Regions from separate parts of the Homo sapiens genome. Here regions 1, 3, 4, 5, 6 and 7 are each linked to region 2. Evidence: promoter capture Hi-C in 16 types of primary human blood cells and fetal thymus (Javierre and others, 2016). All regions are on one chromosome and are shown on one strand. Each heading gives the region's core, a stretch centred on a gene start or on the middle of the fragment in contact. The rest is flanking DNA. Distances are from core to core; before and after follow the strand shown. Region 1 overlaps WARS2-AS1 (WARS2 antisense RNA 1). Region 2 holds the start of GDAP2 (ganglioside induced differentiation associated protein 2). Region 3 overlaps ZNF697 (zinc finger protein 697). Region 4 overlaps IGSF3 (immunoglobulin superfamily member 3). Region 5 overlaps WARS2 (tryptophanyl tRNA synthetase 2, mitochondrial). Region 6 overlaps CD58 (CD58 molecule). Region 7 has its middle 6.1 kb from the start of ATP1A1.

Region 1 (2,700 bases), core at 97-2,596, 1.2 Mb before region 2:
CTCATAGGTGGGAATTGAACAATGAGAACACATGGACACAGGAAGGGGAACATCACACACTGGGGACGGTTGTGGGGTGGGGGGAGGGGGGAGGGATAGCATTAGGAGAGATACCTAATGCTAAATGACGAGTTAATGGGTGCAGCACACCAACATGGCACATGTATACATATGTAACAAACCTGCACGTTGTGCACATGTAACCTAAAACTTAAAGTATTAAAAAAAAAAAAAATTAGCCGGGTGTGGTGGGCGCCTGTAATCCCAGCTACTTGAGAGGCTGAAGCAGGAGAATCGCTTGAACCCGGAAGATGGACGCTGCAGTGAGCCAAGATCAGTCCACTGCACTCCAGCCTGGGCAGCAGAGCAAGACTCCATCTCAAAGAAAACAAAAACAAAAACAAAAACAAATGTATTAGCTTACGATTCTTGGGGTAAGAAGTCCTGAAATCAAGGTGGAGGCAGGGCTGTGTTCCATCTGGAGGCTTTAGGGGAGAATCCAGGCTTTTCTTTTCTACCTGCATTCCTTGACTCTGGGTCCTCTTCCATCTTCCAACCTCTGTTTCCATCATCACATTTCCTTCTTAGACTGACTCTCCTGCTCCCCTGTTAGAAAAACCTCTATGATTACATTGGACTAAACAGAATAAACCAGGATAATATTCTCATCTCAAGATTCTTAATCACATCTGCAAAGTTCCTTCTGCCATATAGCCATCTTCAGGGCCCATCATTCTATCTACCTTTGGGGCAGAGAAACAGAAAATCTGTGCACATACTGGTCCACCCTCTCCTAAAGAGCAGTGTGACTTCATTTGCATTCTCTTTGATCTTAGTTTCCTTACTTGTAAATAAGAAAATGCATTTAACAAATATGTTACTAGACATGCACATTCTGAACTTTGAGGATGCATAATAAAGCAGACAAAAGGCTATGCTCCCATGCTGCTTATGTTCTAGAGGCGGAGAAAATAAAGTAAAATGTTTTAGGTGGTAACTGGTGAGCATTGGTGAGGAGACCAGCATGTCTGGAGTAAAGCAAAGCAGGGGGAAGTTAATGGGGAAAGGGCCAGAAAGAGAGGTTGGGATGGGGGATGCAGGTCACTTAGGTCTTATAGGTTTTGAGAACTTTGGATTTTTTCCAAATGACATGGAAAGTCACTGGAGGGTTTTGGGCAGAGTAGTGACCATGAGCTGACATACATTTTAATAGGTCACTCTGATGGCTGATTGAAAATACACGTAAGCGGGTGAAGGAGGAAGCAGGGAGATGTGTCGGTACCTTATTCTCTTTACTCTCACCTTTCTTTATGCTCTATTCATTTGCATATCCTTGCTTTCTTCATGCAGTTCTCTCTCCTAAGGGCACCCTGCTCCTCTTTCCAATTCAAAATTCTATACAGACACTCCTTCAAGATTGAGCTCAGTACTCATCTTAGAGCAGTAAGGAAACTTTGGGAGCTTATTCTTTGCCCCCATTTTCAGATGAGGACACTGAGGTCCAGAACTCTTAGGAAGCCTGTCCAAGGTTATACGAACAGCAAGCAGTGAGGCTAGGATTGCTGACAAAGTGTGATTCTAAGGAAATCACAAGGGCTTCCTGATACAAAGATGTTTCTCTTGAATTTTCTTCTTCTTTTTTTTTTTTTTTGACAAACCCACAGCCAACATCTTATGTCTTGAAATTCTGTTTGTTGTTTGCCTTCTCCTTCATTAAACGGAGATCTTGACGAGCACAGATGGTATCCTATTCAGCTCTGTGCATTTAGTACAGTGCCTGGCACAAAAGACACCCAATAAGTATTTGCTAGGTGAGTAAATAATGGAATGTCAAGCTCTTGAAAATCTGTGTGTGTGTGTTACTAGTCTCATGTCTTCCCCAAGTTCACCATCTCATGGTGTTAAATGTCAGTTGGACAGGTCTAAAAACTTTTTTTTTTGAGACGGAGTCTCGATCTGTCTCCCAGGCTGGAGTGCAGTGGCACGATCTCGGCTCACTGCAACCTCCACCTCCTGGGTTCACACCATTCTCCTGCCTCAGCCTCCCGAGTAGCTGGGACTACAGGTGCCTGCCACCATGCCCGGCTAATTTTTGTTATTTTTAATAGAGTCAGGGTTTCACCATGTTAGCCAGGATGGTCTCGATCTCCTGACCTCGTGATCCGCCTGCCTTGGCCTCCCAAAGTGTTGGGATTACAGGCGTGAGCCACCGCGTCCGGCCACCAAGGACAGGTCTAAAAACTTATGAGCTGAGTGTTCTAGAAAAGGAGACCTTATTATTGTCTTAAAAAAAAAAAGGAGTGGCAACAGGATTAGAGTGGGGATCTTCCCAACACAGTAAAGATCAGAGCTAGAGACCCTCTTCTTTTCCTTCCCTCCTTAATTCTCAAGCAGTCTGGGATAAGAGGGATGAACTAAGTTCTAAACGAATGTCACTCTTTGAGGAGAAACCACAGCCCTGTGTCCTGTGACCTTCTGTGCACTAGGCATGGTAGTCTTGTTTTTACTGAGGTGATAACTAGCCGTGACAACGTAAGTGGTAAGTGTACCCCCGCCTCTTACTCCTGTGGTGGGGTTGTGCATGCAGACCAGGAGAAAGGCCCCAAGAAGTATGTCCCTGTTTTCACTGTCAGTGGTTGTGTGGACTCATACTGAATTATCTAGTGGCTAATATTTTTAAAAATAGGGGACTTGGCTGGG
Region 2 (2,700 bases), core at 188-2,687:
AAAGATCACTTGAGTCCAGAAGTTCGAGGTTGCAGTGAGCTATGATCACGCCACTGCACTCCAGCCTGGGTGACAGTGAGACTCTGTCTCTAAAAATAAATAAACAAATTCTCCACAATAACACCACAAGGGAAGTCACTCTTCCTATCTCTATTTTACAGACAAGGAACTCAGACCCAGAGATGGCAAATTGCTAACTCAAAGTCATTTAGCAGCTAATTGCCAAAGCCAGATCCCAATCCAGCCAGTCTAACTCCAAAATTTCTGCTTTTAACCACTATGCTAAACTGCTTCTCTTTGCCTCTTTCTCTTTAGTCAATTCCACCTGACTGTTACTCTGAAACAGGATCCCTTTCTCTCCAGCACTTTCAGTTCCAGCTCTTTATCACTGGATTACTGCACTGATTTTCCACCTAGCACCTCCGCCTCCATGTTTTTCACTCTTTTCATTTAAACGTCATAATACTACCGACTAATCTTTTCAAATGAGCTTTCCCTATCCTAAAGCCTTGAAAAGGCTAAATCGTTTGCCAGTTTCCAAAAACTCATCCTATCTAACCCCCGTATTTCTCGAATAAACCTTCCTGTCAGGCTGGCTAGTTTCCTTCCTCGTCCCGCGACCTTGTATTCTTCATATTATTCGTTTTACTTAGAATAACATCCATGTTCTCCTCTACTTCTTTTAACTAATATTATCTTCTGAGGCCCACTTCCTTTCGAGTAAGCCCAATTCTAGCAGCCTTTTTTCATCGCCTCGATATTTAAACTACCTCCCATACAACTTGCACTGTTCACTTTGTTCCACGTGCACAGCTTTCGCCTCCTTTCTGACAGTTCACGACCAAACCTTCTTCCGAGACCCCATGATCTCCGCTTCCTAACCTACAGCCCCCAAAACGATGTTTCCAAGATGCACTGAAGGCCTGGACCGTGGCAACAGACCTGCCACACATTCCTAAACGAGTCTTCGGTCAGGGGAGGGTGACGGAGGGTTCCACACACCGAACACACGGTCATATCATCCTCAGGCCAGCCCGTGCACACGCACGGTCAGGCAGCTCTGCTCAGCACCCGCAACCGCGCCGAGTAGCTGAGGGGCTTCCAAGTACTGCTGTGGGGACGCCCGTAGTTACCTGAGTTCCCCCAGCCCTAGCAACCGGCCTTTAACACGCCCGTCTCGGCTGCTGCTGACATCACGAACGCCTCAGCCAGAATCTGCAAAATCGGAGCCGCAGATAATGCTCTCCGCCCCAACCACGCACCTCCAGGACTCACCTCAGCCTCCACGAGGCTCCCAGCCGATTGGACCCGCCCACAAGACCTGCCCCTTCCGGGTCCGTTCCGGAAGCCTCTTCCGCCAGAGGTTCCCTTTGCCTTCTAGGAGGAAATGACGGAGAAAGCCGGGCGCTGATTGGTGAGCTCTGGCCAGGAGCGGAAGCCGGTGTTTCGCAGCCCAGAGCATTTGCAGCTGGTCACTCCAGTCTCCTGGGACTTTGACTCGCCGTACTCGGCGCGCTCCTGCTGAGGGTCGCCGGAGATGTCGCTCGGCCGCCTTCTACCAGGAGCCTGATCCGTGCCGCCCGCCGCCCGGATGGGACCACCAGAGTGCTGTGAGAGGAGGGACTGAGGCCGGGAGGGAAGGCGGGGCGGAGAGGGCCGGGGGCGCGGTCCGAGGCGCTCGGGACTCGGCCCTGGTCAGGATTGCAGGCTGAGGGTTAGTTCTGTCACTTCTCTTGAAGAACGAGCCTGGCGCCACTTCCTCGCATGTTGGTTAGGTTCTTTCCCGAGGCGTTGTCGGGGACGCCGTCTCTACGAGAAGTGAAAGGGTGGGCAGTCGGCGGGCACTAGGAACAGTGGTGCTGTAGCCAAGGAGGCGGGCGCCCTAGGGTGCAGGTGAAATGGGGCAGGCGGGAGCTCTTGCTGGTTGTAGTCCCAAAGACAAGTCCGTGTTGCCGTTCCTGTGGACTGGACATTCTACGGAACCGAGAGCACCTCGGGTGAGGGGTGGGTAGACGCTGAGCCCAGGATGGTGCGTTGTCTAGGTTCCCGCAATCCCTGGAGTGACACTGGCCTGGCTTTGTGTTTCCGCTCTCTGGCCGCTTGAGGGGGAAGTGACCAAGGCTGACTCCTCCTTGTTTGCTCACTGAGACTTAAGTGCTCTTTCACCAAGTGGGAATTAGCTTTTCTCTCTTGCATTTCTGCTACTTTTATTCTTGAGCTGCATAGAAGTGTTTAGAAATGAGTTCTGATGTCTAGAGCTGTGCAAAATTAAAGCTAACATAGCTGTACAAAAGAAGATCCTGCCGGCGCTTCTTGAACAAGGTATCTGCAGCCAGCCTAGAAATTAGACTTTTGTCTACATTATCTGATTTTCTTTAGAGTTTCCTGAGCTTAATGCATGTTCAGCTAATCTTCCATATTCAAGAAAATTGCAATAGCAAAGAATGCGTATGATGAGACTGTGGACAGCTGTAGCAGCATAGGAGTTTTGAAACAAGATTGCTGTGTATTGGATAAATGAGAAGGGAAGAAATTGTGGCCACAAACTATTATTTTAATAAGCTTGGTGGGAAAGGGAGCATTTGAGTGGGTATGTATGGTTAATATCCCTGACAGGTGCTGTGCATTATATTATTATGGGGAGAAGTGTGTGCTTCAATGGAAAACTACATAGTTTAGATTCTATCTTAACACCCCTTG
Region 3 (2,700 bases), core at 70-2,569, 1.7 Mb before region 2:
ATACGTTTTAAGGTTTCTCCATGTTTTTTCACGCCTTGATAGCTAATTTGATGTTGTCGTGTTTTGGATTTTGGCCATTCTAATGAGCGAGTAGTGGCATCTTGTTTTAACTTGAAATTCTCAAATGACATTGATGTTTGTATTAGTTCATTCTCATGCTGCTATGAAGAAATACCCAAAACAGGTAATTTATAAGGAAAAGAGGTTTAATTGACTCACAGTTCTGCATGGCTGGGGAGGCCTTGGGAAACTTACAATCATGGCAGAAGGTGAAGCAAACATGTCCTTCTTCACATGGCAGCAGAAGAGAGAAGTGCCGAGCAAAGGGGGAAAAGCTCCTTATAAAACCATCAGATCTTCTGAGAACTCTCACTATCATGAGAACAGCCTGAGGGTAACTGCCCCCATGATTCAATTACCTCCCATCTGGTCCCTTCCATGACACGAGGGGATTACGGGAACTACAATTCAAGATGAGATTTGGGTGGGGACGCAGCCAAACCGTATCAGTGTTAAAAATCTTTTCATGTGCCTATTTGCCATCTGCATATTTTCTTTGGTGAGGTGTCTGTTCAGATCTTTTGCCCATTTTTAATTGGGTTTTAAGAGTTCTTTCTATATCTTGGTTAACAGCCTTTTATCATATATATTTTTTTGCAAACATTTTCTCCCCACCTGTGACTCTTTTTCTTGTTATTTTTTTTAGTATATGAGCTTTCCCCATCTTTTCCTTTTTTAGGGGGGGATGTGTGCCAGATTTAATTTAATATAAAACTAGTTTACTCCAGAACTGAGAAACCAAAATGTGAAATTAACTGGAAGACACACTCCCCTTTTACCACCCCCCTTATAACAATAAGCATCAGTTGAATTTAACCAGACTGCAGCCACAGCCTACACTAGTCTGGGGGGCAGTTGCCACAGGACATCTTTTGTTTCTGTTTCTCTACTTCCTAATATGTGCTTGTGTTTATTGATTGAATAGGTGGTGTGGTAAGTATTCCTGGTCAACACTTCCTGTATGGCATGTAATCTTTACTAACTTTCTTAAGAGCCTTCATTTGTTTCCCAGCCTAATTCTGGACCTTTAGGGAAAGGGTTTTCTAGGCTGATGATTCTATGTAGGTGAGAAGAGAAATCAAGAAATCCATGCCTTTCTTGTTGTAGTAAGAAAAACAAAACAAAACATGAAACTCTTGAAAACTGCCAGAGAATAAAACTTTAGTCTGAATAGCCACTCTTAATGTTAAATGCAAATCTCCCCGGTATTTGAATGCACTCCCTGCCCTGCCTTACCCAGCAACTTCTTTAGTCTCATAATTACTTTGAAGATTAAATGTTGGTCTTTCTTCATTCGTCATTTAATTTCTGTGACTGCTAGTCCCAATTTTCCTTGGGTGGGAGAGAAGTAGTTGTCCTGTCATAGTGGGACAGTCTGGTAGCATTCCCCACAATGAACATAAACAGCACTGTGCCACCTCTGTTTGCACAGCTGAATCAAGGGTTAAACCCTTGGAGTGGAGGGAGGACCCACACAGGGGCATTTGATACAAACAAAGCATGCTGGCATTTGGGCCAAGAGATGTAGAATTCTTTTTTGAGAATGGTCTGCCTAACTTTTGAGGCTAATTGCCATTTCCTGTCATGGCTACCTATTTAGCAGGGTAATTAAGCATGTTTGGCTCCTGGTGCTAACAGGTTATTGGATCCAGTTGGGAGAGTTAGGTTGTCTCTATGACTCTACCTTACCTGATGTGATTTTGCCAAATCACTAGATTTCCTAGTCTTTTTAGGTCTTCCTTTTGAGACCGAGGGGAAGAAATAATTACTCCTGATTTTATCCATTTCAAGAACTATTTGAAGGTCCATTGTGTGAGGGAATTATCAAAGTGAATAAAATGTTTGTTCCCATAAGGAACTTACAGTTGGGAGGTGGTAGGAGAAAAAGGAGAGCCAAAAATAAGATATGAATTATTGTAAGTATGATTCTATTTAAAAAACTAATATTAGGCAGAATAAGAAAAAGTATCTTAAGTCATACAAAGTGAAAAAATAATAATAATTCTATCTGAGCACTTACTATCCCTATAAGGTAGGTTCAGTTGTTCTCTCCATTTTATAGATGAAGAAAACTAAGGCCAAAAGAGGTTGAACAATTTGCTTAAGGCTAACAGCTAGACTGGATTCACACAGGTCGTATGGCTCCAGAATCTTGTTTGGTTTTTGGTTTTTTTGAGACAGGATCTTGCTCTGTCACCCAGGCTGAAGTCCAGTGGTGTGAATACCTTCTGGGCACAAGCAATCCTCCCACCTCAGCCCTCCAAGTGGCTGGGATTACATGTGTATGCCACCACTTCTGGCTTTTTTTTTTTTTTTTGGAGAGACAGGGTTTTGCCCTGCTGCCCAGGCTGATCTTGCACTCCCGAGCTTAAGCGATCCACTGGCTTTGGCCCCCAAAAGTGCTGGGATTACAGGCGTGAGCCACTATGCCTGGCCAGAATCTGAGCTTTTAACCATTACAGGTGCTGCTGCCTCCGGAAAAGGACAGACTGTAACCCATGCTTTGAGGACGAAAAGCATCTCAGGAAGGGAAAACAGGGTGCCTTCTGGGGAATTTAAAGCAACCCTTTTGGGCTGGGGTTAGGGGACAGAGGTTAAGATGAGGTAAGAGAGCCTTAGGCTACATTGTTAATGACTTGG
Region 4 (2,700 bases), core at 152-2,651, 1.3 Mb after region 2:
GTTAGCCATAATCTCACGGCCTACAAATATCTACTATTAATAATTTGGTGTATATTTTTTGGTCTTTGCCTCATGTCTTCATATTTCCTCTGTCTGTAAACAAACTCAGGATCTTACTGTTTTATGTGATCTTTTTTCCCACTCAACTTTCTTTTATGAGCGTTTTCCCATGTCTGTGAAAGCATTTCATAGCCACCATTTTTACTGGTTTCATAACATTCATTGTGCAGACGTACTTCAAAGATTTTTTTCGGAGGGATACGTTAAACACATGGAAGACTTGAAATAATATAGCTCTAAAAGTATTGTTAGGAAAATAATCACCTTCCACTGCTGAGAGTTGACATTCACAATAATCTGAAATACATGGAATGAAGGGCTCCCATCCTCACTAAGATTGCAGATGAGTCGATTAGTAGTTGTGTTGGGCTCACACAACTGGGGAAGGGAGAAAACCACAATCATCACACACAGGCCAGGAATTGGCGGTCACAGTGAGATCCAGGGGAGCTGTTAGTGTCACGCAGACAGCAGGGGCAGAGGTCGGCATCTTTCCATGGCTTATACTTGGAAAAGAAGAGAGTATTTAAGTCCAAACAGGGAGGAGGGTTGGCATATTCTAGAAGGGGGCAGATTCAGGGAACTAAATTGGTAGAGAAACATGTTAAGGGGAGAGAGATTGTGGGAAGGTGGAAATTAATTTCTGTCGAAAAACTTGTATTGAGTCATTTATGCAGACAAGGCATTTGAAGGGGCCAAGAAAAATGTTAAGCGGTTAGAAGACAAGAAAGCAAAGGGAGATTGAAGAGGGAGGAGGTGTTTCTGAGGAGCTCAACTGATGGTCTCTGGCCATCTTGCCCCTGGCCATGATAAGTTCCACTGCACATCGCCCAGGGCCACCTCCCTTGACACCTTAGCCAGTCACCAGGAGCGTGGGGATACTATGTTAGACTCTGGAGGAGAAAAGCATGGGGTGGGGGGCTCCCCTTGGTCTCTAGTAGGGCTCTCTAATGGCCTTGGAGTTACAACTGAGGAGTTGAGTGAGTTTGAGTTACCTGTGAACTGATTGAATAGTCCCCACCCGGCCATATTCTGTTCTCAAGCATGTTCTTGTCCCTGAGAGAGCTGGGCCTGCCACCTGTAGCTGGTTACTGAGCCCTCCTGTGCCAGCAGTGCACACTGAGATTCCAGATGGGTGCAGGAGGTGGGTGCAGAGGGGCTTGGCAGAGCCCCCACAAGAGCAATGGGAAGCCCAGCCTTGTGTTAACCTGTGAGCGACATGTTCACCTGTGAGCGACACTAAGCCAATTCATTGAAAGCCCAGGACAATACTTGGAAAGTGCTCCTATTTGGTCTTCATCCAAGTAGGATCTGATTTGGTATCTCTACTTCAGTTTACATTACATTGGCACCTTTCATGAACATTTCATAAGCAGAGCCAAAGGGAGGCCTTTTAGGAGTTAGGGAGTGAATTATTTGTTTAGAACATATTACAGTGAGCCAAAAAAAAAAAAAAAAAAAAAAAAAGACAGCAAAACAGATTCAAGTCTGTTGGCATCTGTGAGATGTGACTCACCTGCTTGGGGTCCCTCTCTGTGGTTACTCTGTGTCTCCCGCCTAAGCAGGGAGGACACTTTGCGTACATCCTCCTGAGACATCTGTGCTCACAGGGAAGGGCCCTTTCAGCCTTGTCGTCTGTTATCTGGCTTTAATCCTTGGAGAGATACTGATCTCCTTGGGTTCTCTGTGTTTTAGGCAATAAGCTACATGCACACAGTTTAAATTTAAGTTACTGCATGGGTGTTTTAAATTCCCAGGGCTACCATAACAAATTAGTATAAACTTGATTGTTTAAAACAAAAGAAATTTATTCTCTTACAGTTCTGCAGGCCAGAAGTCCAAAGTCAGGATGTCATCATAGCCATGCTCCCCATGAAGGCTCTAGGGAAGAATGCTTCCTGGCCTTTGCCAGTTCCTTGTGGCCACAGACATTCCCTGGTTGTGGCTGCTTCACTCCTGTTTGGGCCTCCATCATCATATGGCCACTTTCTCTCTGTCTTCTCTCCTGTGCTCATAAGGACACTAGTTATCTTAGTCTGCTCAGTTGCCATAACAAAATACTATAGACTGGGTGGCTTAAACAACATAAATGTATTTTCCTACAGTCCTAGAGGCTGGAAGTCTGAGGTCAGGGCACCAGCATGGCTAAGTTCTGGTAAGAGCTCTTCTGGCCCGCAGACGGCGCCTTCTTGCTGTGTCCTTGAATAGTCTTTCCTCGGTGCATGCACCTGGAGAGAGATCTCTCTTCTTCTTCTTATAAGACACCAATCTTACTGGATTAGGGTCTCACTCAGCCTTATGACCTCATTTAACTTTAATTACCTCCTAAAAGTCCTACCTCCAAATGTAGTCACATCGTGGGTTATGAATTCAGCATATTAATTTGGAGGGGGACCAATTCAGTTCATAGCACCAGCCACTGGATTTAGGGCCCACCCCAATCCAGCAAGACCTCCTCTTTGCTAATTACGTCTGCAAAGTTGCTATTTCCAAATAATCACATTCTGAGGTTCCAGGTGGACATGCATTTTGGAGGGACACTATTCAGCCACTACAAGGGGTTACAGTGAAAATAAACACCTCTTCCCCCCGGGATTCCCATAAGGAACCACACTACCAGCTTCTTATGAATTCTTCCAC
Region 5 (2,700 bases), core at 16-2,515, 1.2 Mb before region 2:
TTAAACTTTTATTGTGCCTTCCCATTTTTTTTAACCAGTTTTGCAAGATGATGAATATAAAGTAAATATCAGTGTTCTTTCAAGTTTTACTTCAGTGACTGTTATCCTATTTGTACTAAAATTAGTTTAATGTTTAATTCATTTTTGGGCCCTGGTCTGATAGTACCATGATAATTTCAGTTATTACTAAACATGATGATAATGGAGGTGGTGGTGATAATAGCAAACATTCATTGGATGCTTACTATGTGCCAAGCATGGTTTTAAGTATTTGACATTCATTAACTCATTTAATCCTCATAACTCAATAAGGTAGGTGCTATTAGCCCTATTTTATAGATGACGATGTTGGGAGGTTAAATAACTAACCTAAGGTTACATAGCTAGCAAGTGTCAGAACCAAAATGTAAACCCAGCTAGCCTGATTCCAAACCCTGTGCACTAACTACAATGATGATAAATTCTGAAGCAAAGTACACATGTTAATTTGCTGATAACTGCCTTGTAACTTTTAAATCTGTTCTATGAAAGTCACTTATATATCTTGCCATGGTGACATGTAGAGTAGAAATTATAAATCATCCTTTGTTGTTGCTATTCTTACAGTCTTGTTTCGCTCAATGAATTATGAGGAAGAAGCAAAGCTGTCTTGTAAATTTATCTCCATGTCTCTATTTGGCTACTACCACTAGGATTACCTTGTATAAAATAAGGGCTTTTAACACATGAGTCCCAAGGTGCATGTAGGAAGTTCTGTTTATACACAGTCTATAGCTAAAAGGGCAACCTGCACAGAGCCCTGCAGGTAGAGGAGAGGTGGTGAGAGCTAAAGTTGATGGCTGACCAAGGGACCACTATCTAGGGTCTAGTTGGGATTTATGGCTAGAGTGCTTTCTTCAAGAAGTGGCAGAAGTACAGTCAGAAGGTGGGAAGTAAGAAAATAGTGTTGTGGGCCATTTCTGCAAGGGACAAGGAAGAATTTGATTCTGAAAGATTGTCCTTTGAAGGAGTTCTTAAAGAGGTCTATAATTCATTAATTATAGAGTATTAAGGTGAGTATATTAGTATATTAATTAGAATGGTGATGAGGCTTTAAAATTAGCAATATTGAACAGAATTCATTTTATACATCAAACAAAGGGCTTCTCATGAACTTTTTGTCACACTCCTCATGAACAGAGACTTTGCATGGAGTGTTCAACTTTATTATATGAATAAAGCCTACTCTTTATTCACCACGTTACTTTGGACCCCTTTTGGGAAGCAGGAGAATATAATAGTGAAGGGAAATGGAGCTGTTTACTCAAATCGCAGATTTGGATTCCTGTCCTCCCATGGGGAGAATGGTCTGAGCAGCCAGTTCATAAATTTGCTGGAAAAGAGAAGAGGCTTCTTGGGCTGAGGGTAAGTGTGCAGTGCGAAGTTGGAGTCCCAAGGGAGATGTAAAGGACCAGACTGTGTGGAACTCTTGCCAGTCCTGGGGAGAGAGTCAGATTGGCCCACCGACTGGCTACTAGCTACCTGGCAAACTTTGGCTTTTCCCATGGCTGGCAACCTTCCAGCTACTCCCATGCCACTAAGCTATGAGACATCCAGACTCAATAAGTTGACTGGCTCTTCATTAAGAGGAAGTGGGGGAAAGTAGACCATGCATGACTATTTGGATCAGCCAGGCCTGGCTCTACCACCACATTTTAAATGTGATTCCAGGCAGTTTTTTGACTTCACTAAACCTCAGTTGTCTCATGTGCAACATGTTAATAATACTCCTCACATTGTAAGAATTTTATGTAGATTTGAAATCCTACCATATATAAAGTTCCTTGGCCACTGCACAGCACCTGGTAGGTCCTCCCTGCTTGATGATGACTTCTTCAATAATATATAATTCTATCCAACAACCTTTCTCTCTTTTACTCTTATCACTCTTAGTAGGATTCTTTCCATTGCCATACTATTCTTCCCGCCCCCCACCACACCCCCTAGAATCAGTCTGACTTTGTTAATCTCCCAAAAGCAGAGCTCTAATTATGTTGTTCCCTTGCTGAGAAGCCTGTGGGGGCTTCTCATAAAGTCCAGACTTCCCACAGAACGTTTAAAACTTTGTACAGTCCGGGCCGGCGCTGTGGCTCACGCCTGTAATCCCAGCACTTTGGGAGGCCGAGGCGGGCAGATCACGAGGTCAGGAGATCAAGACCATCCTGGCTAACACGGTGAAACCTCATCTCTACTAAAAACAAACAAATTAGCCGGGCGTGGTGGCGGGCGCCTGCAGTCCCAGCTACTCGGGAGGCTGAGGCAGGAGAATGATGTGAACCCGGGAGGCGGAGCTTGCAGTGAGCCGAGATCGCGCCACTGCACTCCAGCCTGGGTGACACGAGTGAGACTACGTCTCAAAAAAAAAAAAAACAAAAAACAAAAAACTTTGCACAGTCCGGATCCAAAATACCTCTCTAGACCATTGCTATCTTACATAGATCCTTTGCCCTAGAGTTCACAAAATTTCCAAGTTTCCTCGGAGCTACTCCCTTTTACTTCCTTATTAATGCCATTACCTCTTCTTGGAAAGGCCTTTCTTCCTATCCTTATCTGTCTGTACTCTATCATTCTTTAAAAACAAAACAGAAATATGTACAGCTTTTTGCAATGTCAATTATACCACAATAAAGTGTTTTAAAACAAACAGCAACAACCAAAAAA
Region 6 (2,700 bases), core at 100-2,599, 1.4 Mb after region 2:
CTATACTGTTCTTGTGATAGTGAATAAGTCTCACAAGATCTGATGGTTTCATAAAGGGGAGTTCCCCTGCACACGCTCTCTCTTGCCTGCCACCATTAAGACATGACTTTGCTTCTCCTTTGCCTTCTGCCATGATTGTGAGGTTTCCCTGGCCATGTGGAACTGTGAGTCCATTGAGCCTCTTTCCTTGATAAATTACCCAGTCTCATGTATGTCATTATTAGCAGTGCGAGAATGGACTAATACACCCCATCTCTACAAAAAGTTAGCCAGGTGTGGTGGTGCACGCCTGTAGTCCCAGCTACTCAGGAGGCTGAGATGAGCCTGGCAATTGCTTGAGTCTGGGAATTTGAGGCTGCAGTGAGCCATGATGACACAACTGCATTCCAGCCTGGGTAACAGAGCAAAAAAATAAAAAATAAAAAGGTAGGAACTATTTTATTATTAACAGAGTCTGTCTTATTCTGCTGTTGTTGACATTTTACAGATCCTTTATTGCCAACTATCTGCATAACTAGATTTTAAGTTCCTTGTATGCAGAAGTCATGTATTATTTTTTAAAATTTTCCTTATATTGATCTGTTTTTTTTTAATAGTAAAGATTGTTGAATCTGAACATTAGATGACAATGTATTTGTCCAGCATTTCTCCATTTGAAATTATCTCACATTATTATGTGAGACTTGTTCATGTGCTTTGCTGGAGTTGAGACTTAGACAGTCTGTGTTTTTTTATTTAGCAAAGATAATCCAAGTTAAAATAGTGTTGTGTGTTCCTATAGGAAAACTAGGCCCAGTGTTATAACAGAGTGTAAGTAATAATAGCCACTAGGAGGTAAGTACCTGCTCTGTGCCAGGAGCTATGCTTCAGATTTGAGATGTTTTTATTTAATTGTCACACTGATTTTATTACATAGGGAACATTTAATAGGAGAACAAAGCTTAGGTAGGTTCAGTAATGTGTCCAAGTTCACACAGCAAATAAGTGGCAGAGTGAACTTGAACTTTGATTCTCTCTGAATCAGAACCTATTCCTTTATATGCTCTGTTGTATCCCTAGCCTGAGATCCACTAAGCAACTTTTTGAAGATGAGTACTACTGATTTCTTATATCCAACATGTATACATTGTCCAATGAAATTCTGCTAAAACATGGGAAATATAGGTCAGCACAATTACCAGTCATGCAAAATTGTATTTAATATCATAATTTGTAATGGTGAGGGGTGCTTCTTTGGGACATAGAATTTACAATGGCAATTTATTGACATATTTATTATTAACATTATTATATTTACATTCTCTAGGTACCCACATTTCACTCCTAGACACTTTTGCATAATCTCAATAACATCATAACATCTATAAATATTAACACTAATCCTGTAACATCACCTAACTTTTACCCGTATTCAGATTTCCCCACTTGTCACAAGAGTGTCTTTTGTTAAAAAACCCGGATCTAATCAAGTTTCACTCATTGTATTCGTTGCTATGTTTTTTTGTTTTAATTTTGATGGGCATCTTTCAGAAGTTTTAAAATAGTCTTAGAACCTCTTTTTAAGAACCAGATTTGAATAATTTATTTTATTGACCTCCTTGTCACTCTAACATTTCTTTAGTAAATACAGGCTTTGAGGGTAGGTATTGGTTTCTCTGTTTAAAAGTAGAAACTTTGCATAAATCAGCCCTTATATGTGTAAGTTTTCTGCCTTTTGGTTTCTTCTCATGCTGTTTCTGCACAAGTGCCTAAGCTTTTTTGAAGCTTTACTTGAGGGGTGACCAGAAGGTTTTACTTAAGGACACAGACCCTTAAATTCTGCAATGACAAATCTCAACTTCCATCTCAGGGTTGTAAGTGAAACCAGGATGCAGCCGTTTCTCTTTTCTCAGATAAGTTCAGGTTTGAATATAAAGTGTGACTATAAGATACAGAGACTGTCCCTAGAAAAGGAGGGGAAAACATTTTAGCAGTTCCTCTTTGGAGATAACTTTCAGTGCCTGCCCATCAGCCTCCAAGGAAAATGCTTTTTGGTTACTTTATAGGTTCTAGTGAACTTTGCTTACTTTACAATGTTCCCCAAAATGTCTGTTGAGATTAGTGCCTGAATTTCCACTGGGCTGACCAGTCTGTAGTTTCTTGAACATTTTCTTCCTATGCCAGTTAAAAATTAGAAGAAAATTGAAGTTTAACATACACATTCAGAAAAAAATAAAAAATCAGATTAATAAGAAACTAATGAGGCTGTGCCATTGTAAACTACTTGCAATAGAGTTTCCCAACGATGAACTGAGTATCTAGAAAATAACAAGGATTCTCAAGGAATTTTAGTGAAATGATCAGTACTGTATTGAAATACCTTGAATCAGACTTTGGAGAATAGATTTAAAAACACTCACAGCCTTAACCGATCTAGTAAGAACCTTATTCCCTAAAGCATACTGTGGATCTCAGCTGTATCCTATCTAAGGTGAGAACAGTCAAAGACAAATGTGGCCTTTGAGAAAGGTGGGATGTGAGTGTCTTGAAACAACAGGCTAAAGAAGTGCTCTCAAATAGAAGTATAATATGGAACATGTGAAATTAATTTTAATAATATATTTTAGTTAACCTAATATATCCATAATATTTTCATTTCGACATGTATTAGGTTGGTGCAAAAGTTATTGTGGTTTTTGCTATTTTTTTTTAATGGCAAAA
Region 7 (2,700 bases), core at 18-2,517, 1.6 Mb after region 2:
AGAGGTGGCGGGAGGTAACTGGCATCTAACCCTTCCTGCTCTCCAGGGGGCACAACCACAAGCACTAAGGAAATAAGTGCCATCATCGTGGTGGATAGATTTGCTATTCTTGGCCTTAAACTCTTCCATGGAAAAACAATTGAGAGAGTTCTTTGGAAGTTGGTCCTACTGGGAATAATACTCTTCCATAGATGCCTTTGCATTAAAGCTGGGTTTCAGAGACTGTGCAGATTTTTGTTTCAGTAAAAAGCTACCTTAAGAGGAGAGAATACAAAACCATCAAAAAGTGGTTTGGTTCATTTATAAGAATGGAAGTTTTTGCAACAGCAGAAGTAACCAAAAAGTAGGTCAGGTGCAAAAATAGTAACCAGCTCAATTCATTTTTAACAGCTTATGTTTTACTCTGGAGGCTTCCATTTTGGCGATGGTGACCTCTACATGTGGACTCTTACAAATAAGCCCCTAAGAAGGGTTCCCCCTTTTTTCCCCCTCTTATAAAGAGCATACTCCAATCCTTAACTCTGGTAGTGTATAGTATTTAACAGAAGTAAGAACTAGTTCATGCAAAAAATCAGAATAAACATTATTGAATATCTACTCTGAGCCTAGCACAGTGCTTGTTGCTGTTGTATAAAGATAACTAAGACACATTCTCTACCCTCAAATAGCTCACCATCTGGCATAAAAAAAAGACATGCAAAGAGATATTAGTAACACAGTGAGAGGTGCTGCATATATGCAGGCCTTCATGGGGGCATGAAGGAGGAAGTGGCCAGCTCTGTCTGCAGAGTGGGAAAGGCTTCCCTGGCTGGGATTGTGAAAGATGGTTAGGAGTTCACGGAATGGCAGCATGTTAGGCAGGACCAGGAGGATGCAAGCAAAAGTAGCACATGGGTAAGGTCTTCAGGACAGAAACAAACTGAGTGTTGGAGGACTGGCCAGAAGATTAAAATGGCGAGAGCCTAGGTTGTGAGAGGAATGGCGGCAGGAAGTAAGCTTGGAGAGGTGAGCAGAGTCCAGATTGTGGAGGACTTGGATGCCATCAAAGGGCTTGGACTTTATCCTATGGGCCATAGGGAGACACTGTGGGGTTCTAAGCAGGGGCAGGGCATGATCAGATTTGTGCTTTGGAAAGATTTCTCCAGTAGATATGCCTTCATAGCCAGCACATTTATGAAAGCTTCTCTGATCACATTATTGAATTCAGAATCTCAAGATACCTATATCTCCTTGTATATTTTTGTCATAGTATGCTAATTTTATTTTCTTCCTTTTCTTGTGCACACACAGGCAGCATGCCTTAACTCCCATTACCATCCCTATTATCTACTACTTCTCTTGAACAGAAGCTTTTGAATTGCTGGATATGATGAAAAACTGGAATTAGGACATAATTTTAACAATTGGTCAACATACAACTCCCTAGCCCTCAGAAGATAGTTCAATTTGCGGGGATGGCTCAGGCATTTTATCTGATTTCCTAGTGTTTTTTGCTAAGGTGAATTCCAAATAGGCCAAGGACTTTGTTGGTTTCCAGTTCTCTCAGAGTCCAGTGCTTGATGCAACTCCACTGACTAAAGAAATGTTAAGCTGCCTGGTAAGCAATCTCACATTTGAAGACCGAAATTATAGAAGATAAAGAAAAGAAGGAAGAAACCAAGTTAATGAAAAATTTAGCTTCAATTGTCCAAATACTGAGGTGAGAGGGTCACTTGAGACCAATGATTCAAGACCAGCCTGAGTGATATAGTGGGACCTACCTCAAAAAAAAAAAAAAAAAAAAAAAAAAAAAAGTTGTCCAAATAGCTCAAGTTAAAGATGTCCCTGCCTAACACATCTCAGCTTTTTGCTTTTTTGACAAGTCCCTGTTAACATTTGACGTCTGGTCATGGACACAGTGTTAAGAGTTAACAGTGGAGACAGAGATGGTGGTGGTGGTAATGAAAGTGATGGTAGGAGGTAATGGGATGGTGGTGATGGAGGTGGTGGACCCAAAATAGCTGATCACATGACAGGATTCTAACCAAATACCTTCTTCAAACAATGTATGTAAGCATGAAGCTTTTTATCTAGAAAAACTATCTAACTTAGTAACTCTACCAGTGGGCTGCTATGAGAAACAATTGACATGATATACTTAAAGCACTAGAACATTGCCTGCCATGTAGTAACTGTTCAAAGAGGGTAAGCAATTATCTCGTCTTGATTCCAAATTCCTACTTAGCCTGGGAGATATAAGGTCCAAGGAAGAATGAAGGCAGCTACAAAATTTGTCTACAGGAGGAGAGAATGAGAACAGAATTTACTTTATGCTGGCTCACCTTTTCCCACGTCAATCTCCTTTATCCAACAAAGAACCAGTCTACTGAGACACAGCCAGCCAAGTGCACCCAGTTGGGTGGTAGAGGTCAGTCAGCACTCCACCTGTCTGAACTGGTCTGGTTATTACCAAACTTCAGGCGAGGACCAGGAAAATAAGTCCACTAAAACGTCAGAGCCGTAGCCCAGCTGATTGATTTTCACCTTCAGAATAAGAAGCCTGAATATCCAGGATCTAGACTGCACGGGCTTCCTCAGGAGAAAGAAAGCATTGTCTCTAAATGCAATTTAAAACCTTTAAAACCTTTTCTTCTTTTTCCTTTTTACTTAAAAAAAAAAAAAAGATACCATCTGCTAATGCAATCACTAATTAGTGAGAGA

Evidence for each region. The method cuts DNA at HindIII sites, captures the fragments that hold promoters and counts their contacts. A CHiCAGO score of 5 or more calls a contact.
Region 1: a contact is called between a fragment that was not itself captured here and the fragment with the promoter of GDAP2 in region 2, in 1 of 17 cell types (total B cells). The highest score is 5.2, in total B cells.
Region 3: a fragment that was not itself captured here is called in contact with the fragment with the promoter of GDAP2 in region 2 in 1 of 17 cell types (M0 macrophages); the score reaches 5.7 in M0 macrophages.
Region 4: a contact is called between a fragment that was not itself captured here and the fragment with the promoter of GDAP2 in region 2, in 1 of 17 cell types (neutrophils). The highest score is 10.4, in neutrophils.
Region 5: a contact is called between a fragment that was not itself captured here and the fragment with the promoter of GDAP2 in region 2, in 1 of 17 cell types (monocytes). The highest score is 5.4, in monocytes.
Region 6: a fragment that was not itself captured here is called in contact with the fragment with the promoter of GDAP2 in region 2 in 1 of 17 cell types (total B cells); the score reaches 5.4 in total B cells.
Region 7: a contact is called between a fragment that was not itself captured here and the fragment with the promoter of GDAP2 in region 2, in 1 of 17 cell types (total B cells). The highest score is 5.3, in total B cells.

Annotation. Positions count from the first base shown.
Region 1 is chr1:119,148,471-119,151,170 of GRCh38, reverse strand. It overlaps WARS2-AS1 (WARS2 antisense RNA 1), which reads right to left. Exons shown (of 7, transcript NR_125975.1): 4 at 425-606. Among named protein-coding and RNA genes, the nearest start is that of WARS2, 9.2 kb to the right of the region's middle. The HindIII fragment of the contact is 7,646 bases long and covers 1-2,700 here.
Region 2 is chr1:117,928,358-117,931,057 of GRCh38, reverse strand. It overlaps GDAP2 (ganglioside induced differentiation associated protein 2), which reads left to right and starts at 1,437. Exons shown (of 14, transcript NM_017686.4): 1 at 1,437-1,610. WDR3 (WD repeat domain 3) reads right to left here and starts at 1,319. Exons shown (of 27, transcript NM_006784.3): 1 at 1,276-1,319. RefSeq lists enhancers at 1,167-1,336, 1,218-1,512. The HindIII fragment of the contact is 4,170 bases long and covers 1-2,564 here.
Region 3 is chr1:119,639,393-119,642,092 of GRCh38, reverse strand. All of the region lies in intron 1 of ZNF697 (zinc finger protein 697), which reads left to right. Among named protein-coding and RNA genes, the nearest start is that of ZNF697, 7.5 kb to the left of the region's middle. The HindIII fragment of the contact is 7,617 bases long and covers 1-2,700 here.
Region 4 is chr1:116,580,148-116,582,847 of GRCh38, reverse strand. All of the region lies in intron 9 of IGSF3 (immunoglobulin superfamily member 3), which reads left to right. Among named protein-coding and RNA genes, the nearest start is that of CD58, 10 kb to the right of the region's middle. The HindIII fragment of the contact is 6,350 bases long and covers 1-2,700 here.
Region 5 is chr1:119,131,175-119,133,874 of GRCh38, reverse strand. The region is part of intron 1 of WARS2 (tryptophanyl tRNA synthetase 2, mitochondrial); the gene reads left to right. Among named protein-coding and RNA genes, the nearest start is that of WARS2-AS1, 7.9 kb to the left of the region's middle. The HindIII fragment of the contact is 5,540 bases long and covers 1-2,700 here.
Region 6 is chr1:116,560,055-116,562,754 of GRCh38, reverse strand. All of the region lies in intron 1 of CD58 (CD58 molecule), which reads left to right. LOC105378925 (a long non-coding RNA gene) reads right to left here. Exons shown (of 3, transcript XR_947739.2): 3 at 1,568-2,700. It overlaps MIR548AC (microRNA 548ac), which reads left to right and starts at 2,644; the gene lies at 2,644-2,700. RefSeq lists an enhancer at 88-237. The HindIII fragment of the contact is 813 bases long and covers 943-1,755 here.
Region 7 is chr1:116,365,800-116,368,499 of GRCh38, reverse strand. No RefSeq gene overlaps it. Among named protein-coding and RNA genes, the nearest start is that of ATP1A1, 6.1 kb to the left of the region's middle. The HindIII fragment of the contact is 169 bases long and covers 1,183-1,351 here.